Linked DNA regions of Homo sapiens: all the other regions are linked to region 3. The links are contacts of gene promoters, found by promoter capture Hi-C in blood cells and fetal thymus (Javierre and others, 2016). All regions are on one chromosome and are shown on one strand. The core of a region is centred on a gene start or on the middle of the fragment in contact, and the rest is flanking DNA. Distances in the headings are between cores, read along the strand shown.

Evidence for each region. Contacts are between HindIII fragments. The CHiCAGO score rates a contact against its expected background, and 5 or more counts as called.
Region 1: a contact is called between a fragment that was not itself captured here and the fragment with the promoter of YME1L1 in region 3, in 2 of 17 cell types (naive B cells and monocytes). The highest score is 6.2, in naive B cells.
Region 2: a contact is called between a fragment that was not itself captured here and the fragment with the promoter of YME1L1 in region 3, in 1 of 17 cell types (erythroblasts). The highest score is 5.0, in erythroblasts.
Region 4: a contact is called between a fragment that was not itself captured here and the fragment with the promoter of YME1L1 in region 3, in 1 of 17 cell types (total B cells). The highest score is 5.5, in total B cells.
Region 5: a contact is called between a fragment that was not itself captured here and the fragment with the promoter of YME1L1 in region 3, in 2 of 17 cell types (naive B cells and monocytes). The highest score is 5.5, in naive B cells.

Annotation. Positions count from the first base shown.
Region 1 is chr10:28,583,610-28,586,309 of GRCh38, forward strand. All of the region lies in intron 4 of WAC (WW domain containing adaptor with coiled-coil), which reads left to right. Among named protein-coding and RNA genes, the nearest start is that of WAC, 52 kb to the left of the region's middle. The HindIII fragment of the contact is 2,083 bases long and covers 224-2,306 here.
Region 2 is chr10:28,547,820-28,550,519 of GRCh38, forward strand. All of the region lies in intron 3 of WAC (WW domain containing adaptor with coiled-coil), which reads left to right. Among named protein-coding and RNA genes, the nearest start is that of WAC, 16 kb to the left of the region's middle. The HindIII fragment of the contact is 4,092 bases long and covers 1-2,700 here.
Region 3 is chr10:27,153,062-27,155,761 of GRCh38, forward strand. YME1L1 (YME1 like 1 ATPase) reads right to left here and starts at 1,323. Exons shown (of 19, transcript NM_014263.4): 1 at 1,117-1,323. The coding sequence starts at 1,149. MASTL (microtubule associated serine/threonine kinase like) reads left to right here and starts at 2,291. Exons shown (of 12, transcript NM_001172303.3): 1 at 2,291-2,551. The coding sequence starts at 2,366. RefSeq lists an enhancer at 2,053-2,112 and silencers at 2,173-2,382, 2,180-2,378. The HindIII fragment of the contact is 10,812 bases long and covers 1-2,700 here.
Region 4 is chr10:28,525,864-28,528,563 of GRCh38, forward strand. It overlaps WAC-AS1 (WAC antisense RNA 1), which reads right to left. Exons shown (of 3, transcript NR_033805.1): 2 at 85-145. Among named protein-coding and RNA genes, the nearest start is that of WAC-AS1, 5.1 kb to the right of the region's middle. The HindIII fragment of the contact is 907 bases long and covers 899-1,805 here.
Region 5 is chr10:28,608,135-28,610,834 of GRCh38, forward strand. It overlaps WAC (WW domain containing adaptor with coiled-coil), which reads left to right. Exons shown (of 14, transcript NM_016628.5): 8 at 52-297; 9 at 2,565-2,687. Among named protein-coding and RNA genes, the nearest start is that of BAMBI, 68 kb to the right of the region's middle. The HindIII fragment of the contact is 3,181 bases long and covers 1-2,700 here.

The sequences.
Region 1 (2,700 bases), core at 15-2,514, 1.4 Mb after region 3:
TTTAAAAATGTTTCAATCACAGTCTTAATGTGTTTATTTGATATTATTATTATCCTATTTTAAACCAATGAGCCAAGCTTATTAATGGAACTGAAGAGTTGTCAGAAGATAGTATCTTTGGTATTACTTAATTAGGATTCCTGTACAAAGCAATGTTTTTCTGTTGTGATATCTGAGATAAAAAGAACTTCAGGCTGAAACTTCTTTAAAGTGGTCTAAGTTAAGCTTACTTTCTTTCCATAGTGTATAAACTCCTTATAGGATACATTTATTATCTACTGTGTCTTACACACTCTCCCAGACGCTAGGGATATACAGTTACCTGTCCACAAGGGTGTGAAACCCAGTGAGGGATTTTAAATATTTTCAGAAGTTTAGTTTAATGAAATAAGTTATTTATTTTGAATTTTAAGTCATAGGTTTAAATGAAATTTTTAATTCAGCAAAAAATTAATAAGGTTTTAATTCACCAGGCATATGCTAAGCTGCATATATATGGAATGTGGCCCATCTTAAAGGAATTCTGGGACCTGTGGTAGAGACAGAAAAGTAAACAAATAGTGCCTGTTAAAGTTGCTTTGGAGGGTGCTCAACACAGGACTCCCAGCTTGGGTGAGGAAGATAGTAAAGTATAACTAATGCTTCCCAACAGGCTGACTAAAACTTGGGCAGTAAAAGAGCTCTGGACTTCATAGCATACAAAGGAATAGAGCTTGCAACGATGTAGAAGTGTAAAATAGTGTAGCACGGTTAGAGAACTGCCAGAATTTTGACAGTGTGGAAAAATGGCAGGAGCTAAAGTTACAGAGGTAAGTGGGAGGCATATCATAAGAAGCTCTATGTCATGCCAAGGAATATTAATTATACATATATAAGGCAGTGGAGAGGTATTGAAGGATATAATCAGTAAAATAACATCATATTTGCAATTTAAAAAATTATCTCGGGTAGCAGTGTGGAAATATAGGAAAGAATGAACAATGAGAAGGCTGACAAAGGTGTAGGTTGAGTCCAACTGATTTTGCTTTGAGTATTTGAGTGATCATCATGTCTTAATTGACGTTGAAAGACCTTCAGATTTTATTTTTGTTTCTTGTTGAAGCAGTGTGGATAGTACATTTCCATAGAAAATTGAGACATTAGGATAATATTTGGATAAAAATAGATAGTATTAGTGTCCATTTAGAAAATTATACTATTGGCCAGGCACGGTGGCTCGCTCCTGTAATCCTAGCACTTGGGAGGCCAAGGCGGGTGGATCACTTGAGGCCAAGATGGTGAAACCCCATCTCTACTAAAGATACAAAAGTTATCCTGGCATGGTGGCAAGCACCTGTAATCCCAGCTACTTGGGAGGCTGAGGCAGGAGAATTACTTGAACCTGGGAGGCGGAGGTTGCAGTGAGCCAAGATCACCCCATTGCATTCCAGCCTGGGTGACAGAGCAAGACTGTCTCAAAAAAGAAAAGAAAATCATGTTAATTGTTTTAACACAGAATTTAATATATGGGATTGGTTAAGCAGATACTGAAAAAAAACAAAGGAACCCTCAGGTAACACATACAGTAATCACCACTCAAGGCTATTGAACAACCGGATGAATTTGGGGTTTTAGAACCCAGTAGCATAGAGGAGGAGCCCCACAGAGCTGGTAGTAATACCTCTGAGGGTATGGTGAAGCTAGTTCTAGTGGTGGGATGGTAGCCGAGAGCTGGTAACAACGGCGGCTGCTCCTTTCTCCTGCCTTTCATTCGTCTAATGCTTCTAAGAGGAAGGAAGCCATCTGGCTAAATAGAGAGTAATTTGCACTGTCCCAGCTCTAGCATCACAGAGCGGACTATCAAAGGGTGGGACTGGGACTGAGAAAACAGCTCGCTAAGCCTTCACGCGTGCTATCGTCAAACTATTTGTGATGGGTCATTTTCTTTTTCCTTTCTTTTTTTTTTTTTTCCAAGTAGGGAAGGGAGGATGAGGCCAAGTGGGGAGAAGGGGGGGCAAATCATTTTCAGTGAGATGTATATTCAGGATTTTAGAATGAATCTGCCTGTTTTCCTGGAAAACAGTCTATTACTTTACAAAGTAACACTAACCTAAAGTTCCACTTGTCATTGACAGTTTAGATTTGCTATTTGTCTACTCCTAGGACAGCAGCAGCCCTTGTGGGCATTGTTTTTTTTTTATTTTGTAAAACACAAATGCAAACAAAACAAACACCTCATTCAGGGAAGACAAACTTTGATTATTAGGATTTTACAGCAGTGGGTTTAACCCAGTGAAGTCAGAAAGAATAAATAATGGGCGTAGATAAGCTTGAATGATTCAAATCATAAGGGTGTCAGGGAACTTAATTATGTGAGTGAAAGTTGAAGACCATTACTAGAATAGATAAAATGTTTTGTGTTTCTGGAATCCGCGTTCTGGTTTCTCTAGATTTCACCTGTAGGTGCATAAGTAGTGGTCTTTTGCATTATAATGTACCTAGTGGGAATGATACAAACAGCCCTTATGAACTGTAAATTTAATCTTACCTGAAAAGTTGGCTTTAGAGTTATCTACACAGATATTTGGGTATGTGGGTGATTTTTTAAAATCAAGTTAACTATTAAAAACCAAGTTGAAATTATCTTTTATTTTCAGTATCAGATTAAGGCGTTAACATTTAATGTACTTCCCTGCTAAGTCCTCTGATAAACATTTATTG
Region 2 (2,700 bases), core at 56-2,555, 1.4 Mb after region 3:
CACAAATCTCACTTTGTAAGTGTAGGCCTTTTTTCGTTACTTCTAATTAGTGCATTTTAATTTTTTAATTACATTTTAATTTTCTTTCTCTTTTTCTTTTTTTTTTTTTTTCTTCTTTGAGAGAGAGTTTCGCTCTTGTTGCTGAACCTGGAGTGTAGTGGCGCAATCTTGGCTCACTGCAATCTCCGCCTCCCGGGTTCAAGGGATTCTCCTGCCTCAGCCTCCCGAGTAGCTGGGATTACAGGTGCGTGCCACCATGCCTGGCTAATTTTTTTTTATTTTTAGTAGAAACAGGGTTTTACCATGTTAGCCAGGCTGGTCTTGAACTCCTTACCTCAGGTGATCCACCTGCCTCTGCCTCCCAAAGTGCTGGGATTTACAGGAGTGAGCCACCACGCCCGGCCAACATTTTAATTTTCTAAAGACCCTGGACAATACCCTGAATGCTTAGTGCCTTTTTGTCTAACCCTATCCGTTAGAGAGTCATCTTCCACACTCTTTTTTTCTTCTCTTTTACTTGTTTCTAACTTTTCTCCTTTTAGAACTCCTGTTAGATGTTTTTTGGTTCTATTCTACTTCTCTTTTGCCTGGTAAATAGTAAGTACAGTAGTTAGATAATTTTTAAGTGTACACTCCACTCTGGGGAGAATCTCTTGGCATCTTCTTTCAACCCCCTGATAATTAAAGCTGTGTTCATTTCATCCACCTATTCCAAGTTTTATTTTGGGTGCTGTGCTTTTTTCATAGCTTTTTGTGATTTTATAACTGATTTACTAGAAATACTCTTGAGAATTTGGGTTATTTTTTAGTTTTTTTCATGTTAAATATATGTTTTTCTGGTTGAGTTTGGTGCATCATACCCGTGTTACTGGGTTCCTCAGATGCTTGCTGTTCATAGTTGTCTATTCATGTTTGGGAATACGAGACTAGGTCAACTCTATCAAATAGAATATATGGTTGAAAATGTTTGCTGTCTGAGCTGTCCAGTGTGGTAGCCACCAGCTACGTGTATATTGAGCATTTGAAATGTGGCTAGTGCAGCTAAGAAACTCAATTTTTGTAGTTTTTTTTTGGTTTGGTTTTGTTTTTGAGGCAGAGTCTTGTCCTGTCACCCAGGCTGAATGGAGTGCACTGGTATGGTCATGGCTCACTGCAGCCTCAAAAAAACTCCTGGGCTCAAGTGATCCTCTTGCCACAACCTCCCAAGTAGTTGAGCCTGCAGGCATATGCTGCCACTTCTGGCTAATTTTTGCATTTTTTATAGAGACAGAGTTTTACCATGTTACCCAGGCTGGTCTTGAACTCCTGGCTTTAAGTAATCCTCCTGCTTCAGCCTCCCAAAGTGCTGGGATAATGGGTGTGAGCCACCACATCCAGACAAGTTTTTGATTTTTTATGGTGTTGGCTTTCCTTTCTGTGCTGCTGTTTTAATCTCATGCTTGAGCCGTGACTCAAAAGTTACTTTTTCTGAGGTGTTCTGTCTTTGCTGCTTTCTCAGTTTTCATACCCTACCTGGGTATAGCTGTGGGTATCTCATGCTTCTTTTAATCCTTTGATTTTCAGGCCTACATATCTCTTTGCTTATTGGACAGCCACCACCTAATGTTCTATAGATAATCTTCCTAAATCTTTTTCTAATTTGGCTATTCCCTGTCCTGATTAATGCCTGGGAAGTTGTCCCTGATTCTTTTTTCCTGTGTTTATGGGCAACTTCCAGAACTCATTGCCCTGTTTTAAAATATTGCAATATCTTGTTTACAGACCTGTTGTCTCATTCTTTACCCGCAGCTGAGTAAAAATTAACTACAAATTTAAACATACTCTTTTCATTAACCCTGAAAGCCTGAATTTTATAGGTCTTAATTATGTTGTATTGATGACAGTTGTCCAAAAATGAGTTTTTCTCTCCGCTTCCACATATACTTATCAGATACATTTTCTTATCTAATGTACATAAGAGGCCACTGAAATGAACTGTTATGTCCATGCCTGAAAGTTAGCATCTCAGACTAGGTTTCTGGCTTGTATAAATATAACTTGAAGTTTAAAGAGTTTTAAGTTTTGGCCAGGCGCAGTGGCTCACACCTGTACTCCCAGCAGTTTGAGGTCCCGAGGTGGATGGATCACGAGGTCAGAAATTCAAGACCAGCCAGGCCAAACATGGTTGAAACCCTATCTCTACTAAAAATACAAAAAGTTAGCTGGGTGTGGTGGCCAGCACCTGTAATCCCAGCTACTCGGGAGGCTGATGAGGCAGGAGAATCGCTTGAACTTGGGAGATGGAGGTCGCGGTGAGCGGAGATCACACCACTGCACTCCAGTGGGTGATAATGCAAGACTCAGTCTCAAAAAAAAAAAAAAGTTTGTTTTATGAGCCACCATTACCCAAAGTTCACATTACTCTTTTCTCAGCCACTCTCTGCCTTCTCTATAATCTAGTCATGTAAAAGCACTTACCCAGTCCTAGGCATCTTTTTTTTTTTTATGCTGTTGTCCCATTGTATGTGTTTTCATAGCCAAAATTGTCCTCTCTCCACTCCTACCTCACCTTTTTTTTTTTTCCTTTGCCAAACCTCTTACTCCTTCAAGGTCCCACTTTATTTTATGAAGCCTTCCTTGAGCCTATCTTTATTATAGCTCTTTTGTAGAGATTTGTAATTATTTACATATGTTGTTTGCCTGCTACACTTTGAGCTCCTA
Region 3 (2,700 bases), core at 73-2,572:
AGCCTTATTTTTGTTCCTTCAACCTGCTAAACCCTTTCCTAACTCAGGACCTCCAGGTATTTTTCTGTATGCCTGTGATACCTGTTCACTCTTCACCTTGCTAAGTCCTACTCATATTTACTTCATATCAATATTAAGAGAAGATTCCACATTTGCTTTGCTCACCTGGTACATAACTGATGCCCAATAACAAGCAGCTGCTTCAGTTTGTTAGCCAGTACTAGCACAAAAAATTAAAAATTCTTAAAATGAGGGGGAGTAAAAGTTACACAAAGGAACACAATCATATGCTTAAATCAAGAACCTAAGAGTGTCGATTTTCTTAAAAATTATGTTTTAAAAAAACTCAATGTTTTAAAAACTATTTCTTTGCAAAACTGTAGGAACTCTCAAAAAATCTATTAAAATGTTACCATCAAAAAAAGAGACTGGAATGAAGCAAGAATAAAACATTGTCACAAGTGATTGCCCAAGAGCGTAATGAAAACCCTTGAAATCATTTTTCTCTTCACTACCTTTTGTTTTACAAAACGATGAGGATGAGGCTGAATCAAAATTTTAACTGCAAACAGTTTACGACTCGGAAATACACATTTTAGTTACTTCTGGTCAAAATGAGAAAAAAACTTGCATGGCTGGCCATCCGAAATATTATACCATGTTTGGGTTAAATTTAAATTCCATTTAAAAGGAAATAAAGAGCAGGGGATAGGGGCTGTGAACACTAAAGCCACTGGAAAGTCGGAAAAAAGGGAACATTACCTGCTCCCTTTAATGTATGGTACAGACATTTTCCCACCCCAGAACGCCGGACACTGAACAATGCCGGACGGATTCTCTAGCAGAAATTCCACGCAATCAGTTCGATAAGCCAGGGTCTCTCTCTATCACTGAGCTCACATCCCGCCTCTGCCCTCAACAGCTTCATCGTCAGCACTGAAGTCTCCGGCCCACTCTCAGCGTCGTCCCCTGATCCACTCCTCAATCCTGGGATTCGCATTGAGTACATCACTTCATTTCTAGAGTCCCTTCTGAGAAATCGCTTCCACGAGCGCAATTTGCAAACAGCCACGGGCAGGGCGGGAGGAAAAAAAATGGGCTGAATGCCTGGCTTACCTGGGGTTGCACCGTGCTCGACAAGGAAAACATCTCCGGCGGGCCCTCAGCGACCTCACCCGCCTGCCGAAACTGTGCCCCTCTGTCCACGGCCCGGCGGGGAGGCGCTGAGCCCTTCTTTTTTCCTTTTTCTCCGACCCGTTGCCCCTCACTCCTCCCAGAAACGGAAAATGGCCTCCCCTTCCTACAGCTACTGCAACGACAGACAATCCGCCCCGGAAGGCGAGGCGCTAACTCAACAGTACTTCCGGGGCAAGTGAGCGCCCACAAGGCCAAGTGCCTGCGCGTTCTTTCCCGCGGAAGTAGTTGACATTTACAAGGAGCAGCGCCCCCAAAGGTCTTTAGCTGTTTTTTAAGGGGAGAACAGCCTTTACCCTCTTTGGACTTTTTCTTCGTTTTTTTTTTTTTTGGAGACGGAGTTTCGTTCTTTCGCCCAGGCTGGCGTACAGTGGCGCGATCTCGGCTCACTGCAACCTCTGCTCCCCGGGTTCAAGCGATTCTCCTGCCTCAGCCTCCCGAGTAGCTGGGATTACAGGTGCCCGCCACCACGCCCGGCTGATTTCCTCTTAAGACTTTCTACAGCTTCCTTATGAAATCTTCTGACTGGGCCTTGAGCAATAAGGTCTTTTGCTACAATTTAGTGCTCTTTTCCTCACACTAAATCGAAAACTCTCCCTGTTGGTCCTGATCTGTTTCAGTCAGGCAAATTACATCCTGGGAAAACGTCAGATGACAGGGGAGGCCACTCGCTTCCTGCTCATCCAGTTTCGACACTTTCTGTGCTTTCATTAGCTTCCAGACCTCAGCCCTGGCCCTCGCTTTACTGTACAGTCAGAACTGGTTTCTACGCCTCGCGAGGGTGGGAGGTCGTGTATGGGAGGAGGACCGCTTCCCACCAGCCTCGTTGGGAAGCCAGGAGAAATCTCTTCAAATCCTGCGATTCAGAGTCAAGTCCCAGTCGTCCTTTTTCTGGTCGGCCCAGAACTGTTTGTGCCTCCTCCCTCATGAGGAATGATGTCAGTGGGGCCGCGGTCGCCGCCCACGAAGAGTGTAAGGCTGCGAAGTCGGGGCTTTCCCGACGCCCCCTCCGTCCGCGTCTGCGTAGGGGAGGTGACGAGGGCGGGGCGCGGCGGCGGGGTGACGTCACGGCCGCGCGCGGCGTGGGCGGAGCCTCACTTTGAACCCAGTTGGCGGGAGTGGCTGCTCGCGGAGGGGCAGTGTCTGCGGGGCCGCTGTATGCTGTCCAGCGATGGATCCCACCGCGGGAAGCAAGAAGGAGCCTGGAGGAGGCGCGGCGACTGAGGAGGGCGTGAATAGGATCGCAGTGCCAAAACCGCCCTCCATTGAGGAATTCAGCATAGTGAAGCCCATTAGCCGGGGCGCCTTCGGGAAAGTGTATCTGGGGCAGAAAGGCGGCAAATTGTATGCAGTAAAGGTAGGAAGTCAACGAGTAGCAAGGAAGGGGTTAGGCCCTTCGGCCCTCCTTCCTGCCCCACCGGCTTGGGCAGGCCCCGGGGTTGCTGGAGCGAGGAGTCTGGGTGGCCTGGCTTGCTGAAGCCTCCAGAGCCCTGCGAGCTGACTTCT
Region 4 (2,700 bases), core at 102-2,601, 1.4 Mb after region 3:
TGACAATTTGTGCCAATGTATTCACTGGTTTTGTGGAGAAATGCGCTCTTGGAGTTTCCTACTCATCATTTTCAATGACATCACCTCCAAAGGACTGATTCTTGAAGAACTTCAACATTTGGTAGTGGAGTAGACAAGGACGACTCTGTGAAAAGTAATGAGAGGAGCAGTCAGAGAAGGAAGAAGAAAATACAAAATGTGTTGTGCCATAGAAGGCGAGAGAGAAGGGCAACGCAAAGGGAGGCACTATCAATGTCAAATATTCTGAGATTAAGAAAGAGTGAAAAAAATGTTCATTAAACATAGGTGCAAAGAAGTTGTTTGTGACCTGTGACCTTAACACTATTTCTAAATGAGACAACATTGGTATTTTGAGCAGGACAAGTCTTAAATATAAAGAACTGTCCTACGCATTGCTACATGTTTAGCATCTTTGACTTCTGGTAACTAAATATCTGTAGCACCCTTCACCCTTAAGTCATACTGAAAATATAGCAGTGATAAAAAAAAAAAATACTGCCACACATTTCCAAATGCCCCCTGGAGACTCAGCACTGCCTCTTTAAGAACTACTGCCTCAGGGAAATCTATTTTGCTAATATTACGGGGGCAGATGTCAAACAATAGTGACCTAAAATGTCAATACGAGAGTAAAGAATGAAACAAGTGAGGTACCACAAATAAGACTTAGCAGATGTTTGGCTGAAGTGAGCAGTTAAGAGTATACGGTCAAGAAAGGGTTTTCTGGTGGTAGGATTTATTATGTTTAAAGATCAGTGGAAATAATCCAGATGAAAGAGAGTTTGAATATACAAAGGAAGGGATAATTGATAATATAAGGTGAACTGAAGGGGGGGTGGCAAGAAAGGACAGATAGAGAAAATGGCCTTAGATGAGAAGCTTACTTTCCGCTTTGAAACAGTAACCTGAAGCACTTAGGCAATGCTGTAGGATCCTAACTGGTTTCCCTGCTCCTTGCCTTGCAATACAGATATTTTCAACACAGTAGCCATGTCATTTTCTGCTCATAACTTTTCAATGGCTTCCCAATTAACTCAGAATAAAAGCCAATCTTCTTATAATGGCCTATAAGATTCTTCACAGTCTGTTCCTCCACCCACTTCTTTAACCTCACCTCATTTCCTAATATTTTCCCTCTCAGTCACTGCCCTTCAATCACAGAGCTTTCCTTATTATTTCTGAACACATTAGGCAGTCTTTCCTCAGGACCTTTGCTCTTGCTGTCCCCTTTGCCAGAAACATTCCTTTCCAGACACCTGTATAGCTTGCTACCTCATCACCTTCAAATCTTTGCTCAAACGCCATGTGCTCAATAACCACTCTACTTGAAAACATTACTCCTCCATCCAACACTTTACCTACTGTTCTCTGTAGCACTTATTACTTTCTAAATTACTATGTCATTTGATTTTGGTGATGATGAGGCTTAAGTGGAATCAGTATATTCTATTATTTTATAATCTTCAGCAGCATGCAACTGCTCAGAGGTGCTCAGAAAATGAATGGTTGGATTAACTCAGGTTGAAGTTTCGCCAGACACAGGTAAAGGGTTTAGGGTATGCTTCTCAATATTAGCTGAACTTTAGTATCTATTACTTGGAAGAACTTTAAAAAATGGCCAATCTTGAGTCAGTAAGTAATTCTCCCAAGATCTGTTGATTGCATTATTTACATCATCCCTGCCTAGTACCATATGTTGATATGGTGACGTCCTGGTGTTTACTCCCCTTTCCTAGATAGTAATTTTTGTTGCAGTTTCTTATTTTTCGTCATAATTGAATGAAAGCTTCATATCACAAATCTGAGATCCCAAAGCATCTCCTTTTAGTTATGTATTATTCTTAAAATACAAACTCCATAAGAGCAAAACCCAAGTGACTTTGCTTAACACTATGTTCCTAAGACTTGATACGCAGAACTTCAATACTATTTTTTCAAAATGAATAACCACCAGTAGCGAAACATGTATGTGCCAGGTACTGCTAAATTATTTACACAATTTCAATTACTTTTCACAAACAGTACTATACCCTATTAAGTGAAGTTTAGAGACAAAGCAGGATAATCCTCAAGACTAGTAATTTGCCCAAGGTGATGTTGGTAGTCAATAATGTAGCCTGAGCTCTACGCAATGTCATACTGATTCTAAAACCCACGCTTTTAATCACTATACTAGGCTGAGTTTGTGAGGAAGGCAAGGACAGAGAAAAAAGAGATAGAAATGAAGTATGTGAAAATTTTTGGAAATATATCCTTATGATGTTTTAGAAATTGCAACAAAGCTTTTTAAAGTCCCTTTTGGCCAGGCGTGGTGGTTCACGCCTGTAATCCCAGCACTTTGGGAGGCGGAGGTGGCAGGTCACAAGGTCAAGAGATCGAGACCATCCTGGCCAACATGGTGAAACCCCATCTACTAAAAACACAAAGATTAGCTGGGTGTGGTGGCACGCACCCATAGTCCCAGCTACTTGGGAGGCTGAGGCAGGAGAATCGCTTGAACCCGGGAGGTGGAGGCTGCAGGGAGCTGAGATCACACCACTGCACTCCAGCCTGGCTATAGAGTCAGACTCTGTCTCAAAAAAAAAAAAAAAATCCCTTTCACAACTAGAGGCTTGAGGATTTCACTTTTTGGTTCTTCCTTCAGTTCTTCCTTCAATAGAATCACATTAAAATCTTGGT
Region 5 (2,700 bases), core at 43-2,542, 1.5 Mb after region 3:
CCAATTTTCTCTATTCAGGTAATTTTTCAGGCTGATTATCTTTTTATTTAGAATCTACATCAGGAGACAAACCCGTATCACATTCTTGCACAACTCCTTCCACGTCTTCTGCCTCTGGACTGAACCCCACATCTGCACCTCCAACATCTGCTTCAGCGGTCCCTGTTTCTCCTGTTCCACAGTCGCCAATACCTCCCTTACTTCAGGACCCAAATCTTCTTAGACAATTGCTTCCTGCTTTGCAAGCCACGCTGCAGCTTAATAATTCTAATGTGGACATATCTAAAATAAATGAAGGTAAATCTTCATAACAGTTTTTTAAAAATTTATTTGCATTGTGCAAAGTTATGTAAGTAGTAAAATCCCCAGTTTAGGAATGGTCTTTGTTTTCTTTTGAAATTTATAGTTGAACACTTTTTTTTGTTTTGTTTTTTGTTTTTGGAGTTTGGAAATTTATATCCACTGTAGTTTAAGACCATTGGTAGTATAATTGAGTTAGTGGTGCTTGGATCTTGTGTATATTTTTCAATACTTGTTATGTGTCTGGTAGTTACTGGAGGTAAGCCATTCTATATACATAATGTGTATGGTGAAATTTTACATTAAAACAATCGAGCGTTTGTTGAAATCGGTATTAAAACTTCTGGTATGTTTCTAAAAAACCTGTATAAATAATTACTCAGAATATTTAAAATATGCTAATTACTAGAAAAGTAGGAATTCAGGTAGCTACTTAAAATACTTTCAAAAAATTCTGAGAAGGGAGGAGATAGGTACTAGATAAAATGTTGCCATTTTTTTCCTGGTGAATTGCATTATTTAATTCCAGCCTTGCTTTTCAGTAATGCTACTTACGTTTCAGAATATTTAGTCAGCCACTTTGAAAAAGTATGAATAAAAGTAGATGTGTTAATTTGGAAACTATTCAGATTCACACGTTAATTCCTAAAAGCACTGCAAAATTTTCTGTTGAAAATGATAAATTTTTAGGCCGAGGCGGGTGGATCACCTGAGGTCAGGAGTTTGAAACCAGCCTGACCAAGATGGTGAAACGCTATCTCTAATAAAAATACAAAAGTTAACCAGGCGTGATGGCACATGCCTGTGAATCCCAGCTACTCGGGAGGCTGAGGTACGAGAATCGCTTGAACCCAGGAGACGGAGGTTGCAGTGAGCTGAGATGGTGCCTGTACACTCCAACCTGGCTGACAGAGCAAGACCCCATCTCAAAATAAATAAAAATAAAGTGATCAATTTTTATGTACATTTTCACATAATATACTTAAAAGTAGTGTTAAGTGGTTAAGTTCTTATCCTAAAAATAAAGCTATCTCAGGCTAGTTGGTCATTAGTCTGTTCTTACTGTCCTTAATTTTTTTGTATTTTTATTTTATTCTCTAACCACGCAGTTCTCTTGTGTGGTAGGTAAATGTTTCATTTAGGCAAAGTGGGGCTTTTAGATAGTTTGAGGAGGCCAGATGCAGTGGCTCATGCCTGTAATTCCAGCACTTGCTGAGGCTGGTGGGCCACTTAAGCCCAGACCAGCCTGGGCAACATGGTGAACCCCATCTCTACTAAAAATACAAAAACTTAGCCAGGTGTGGTGGTGAACGCCTGTAGTTCCAGCTACTTGGGAGGCTGAGGTGGGAGAATAACTTAAGCCTGGAAGGTGAAGGCTATGGTAAGCTGTGATTGCACAACCCTGTCTCCAAAATAAATAGTTGAAGAAATAATAGTTAATGTCAATAATAAAATATCTTACACATCAAAAATACATGGTATTCCTAAATACTTTTTTTTTTTTTTTTTTTTTGAGATGGAGTTTTTGCTCTTGTTGCCCAGGCTGGAGTGCAGTGGTGCAATCCCGGCTCACTGCAACCTCTGCCTCCCAGGTTCAAGCGATTCTCCTGCCTCAGCCTCCCTAGTAGCTGGGATTACAGGCACCTGCCACTATGCCCAGCTAATTTTTTGTATTTTTAGTAGAGACAGGGTTTCACTATGTTGGGCAGGCTGCTCTTGAACTCCTAACCTTAGGCGATCCACCTGCCTCAGCCTCCCAAAGTGCTGGGTGTGAGCTACCATGTCCGGCCAATACTCCCTTTTTTGTATCCATTTTTAGATTTATTAGGGTGGATCTTGATATAGGATTTGAATGGCCAGCTTGTCTAAAAGGGCAATCACATGAAATAGCAGTTGTTTATCCAGTTAATTCCATATAACATACTGAACACTCACATATGAATAGGTTTCTGACATAATTGGAAGTTCCTGTGAACACTCGTTAAATTTTGTAGAGAGACTTTGTTCAGGTGATCATCTTAATTAGTGTAAAAGAAACTCTGTTGGTTTACCTTTATTGTAAACCCATTAAGTTTCTTTTTCTCTGCCTCAGATCATTTCAAATTTGGGACCCATTGTATTACTCCTATCTAGTAGGCTTTTATTTTGAGAGTTCTAGGTTGAAATATTCCAGTTTCTTGTGAGTTCTCTTCCTTGTCAGGTTGTTACTAATGCCACATAAGCCTCTTGTTTTTATATGAATGTATGAAATAATATGTTTTTAGTTCTTACAGCAGCTGTGACACAAGCCTCACTGCAGTCTATAATTCATAAGTTTCTTACTGCTGGACCATCTGCTTTCAACATAACGTCTCTGATTTCTCAAGCTGCTCAGCTCTCTACACAAGGTATTCTTACTCA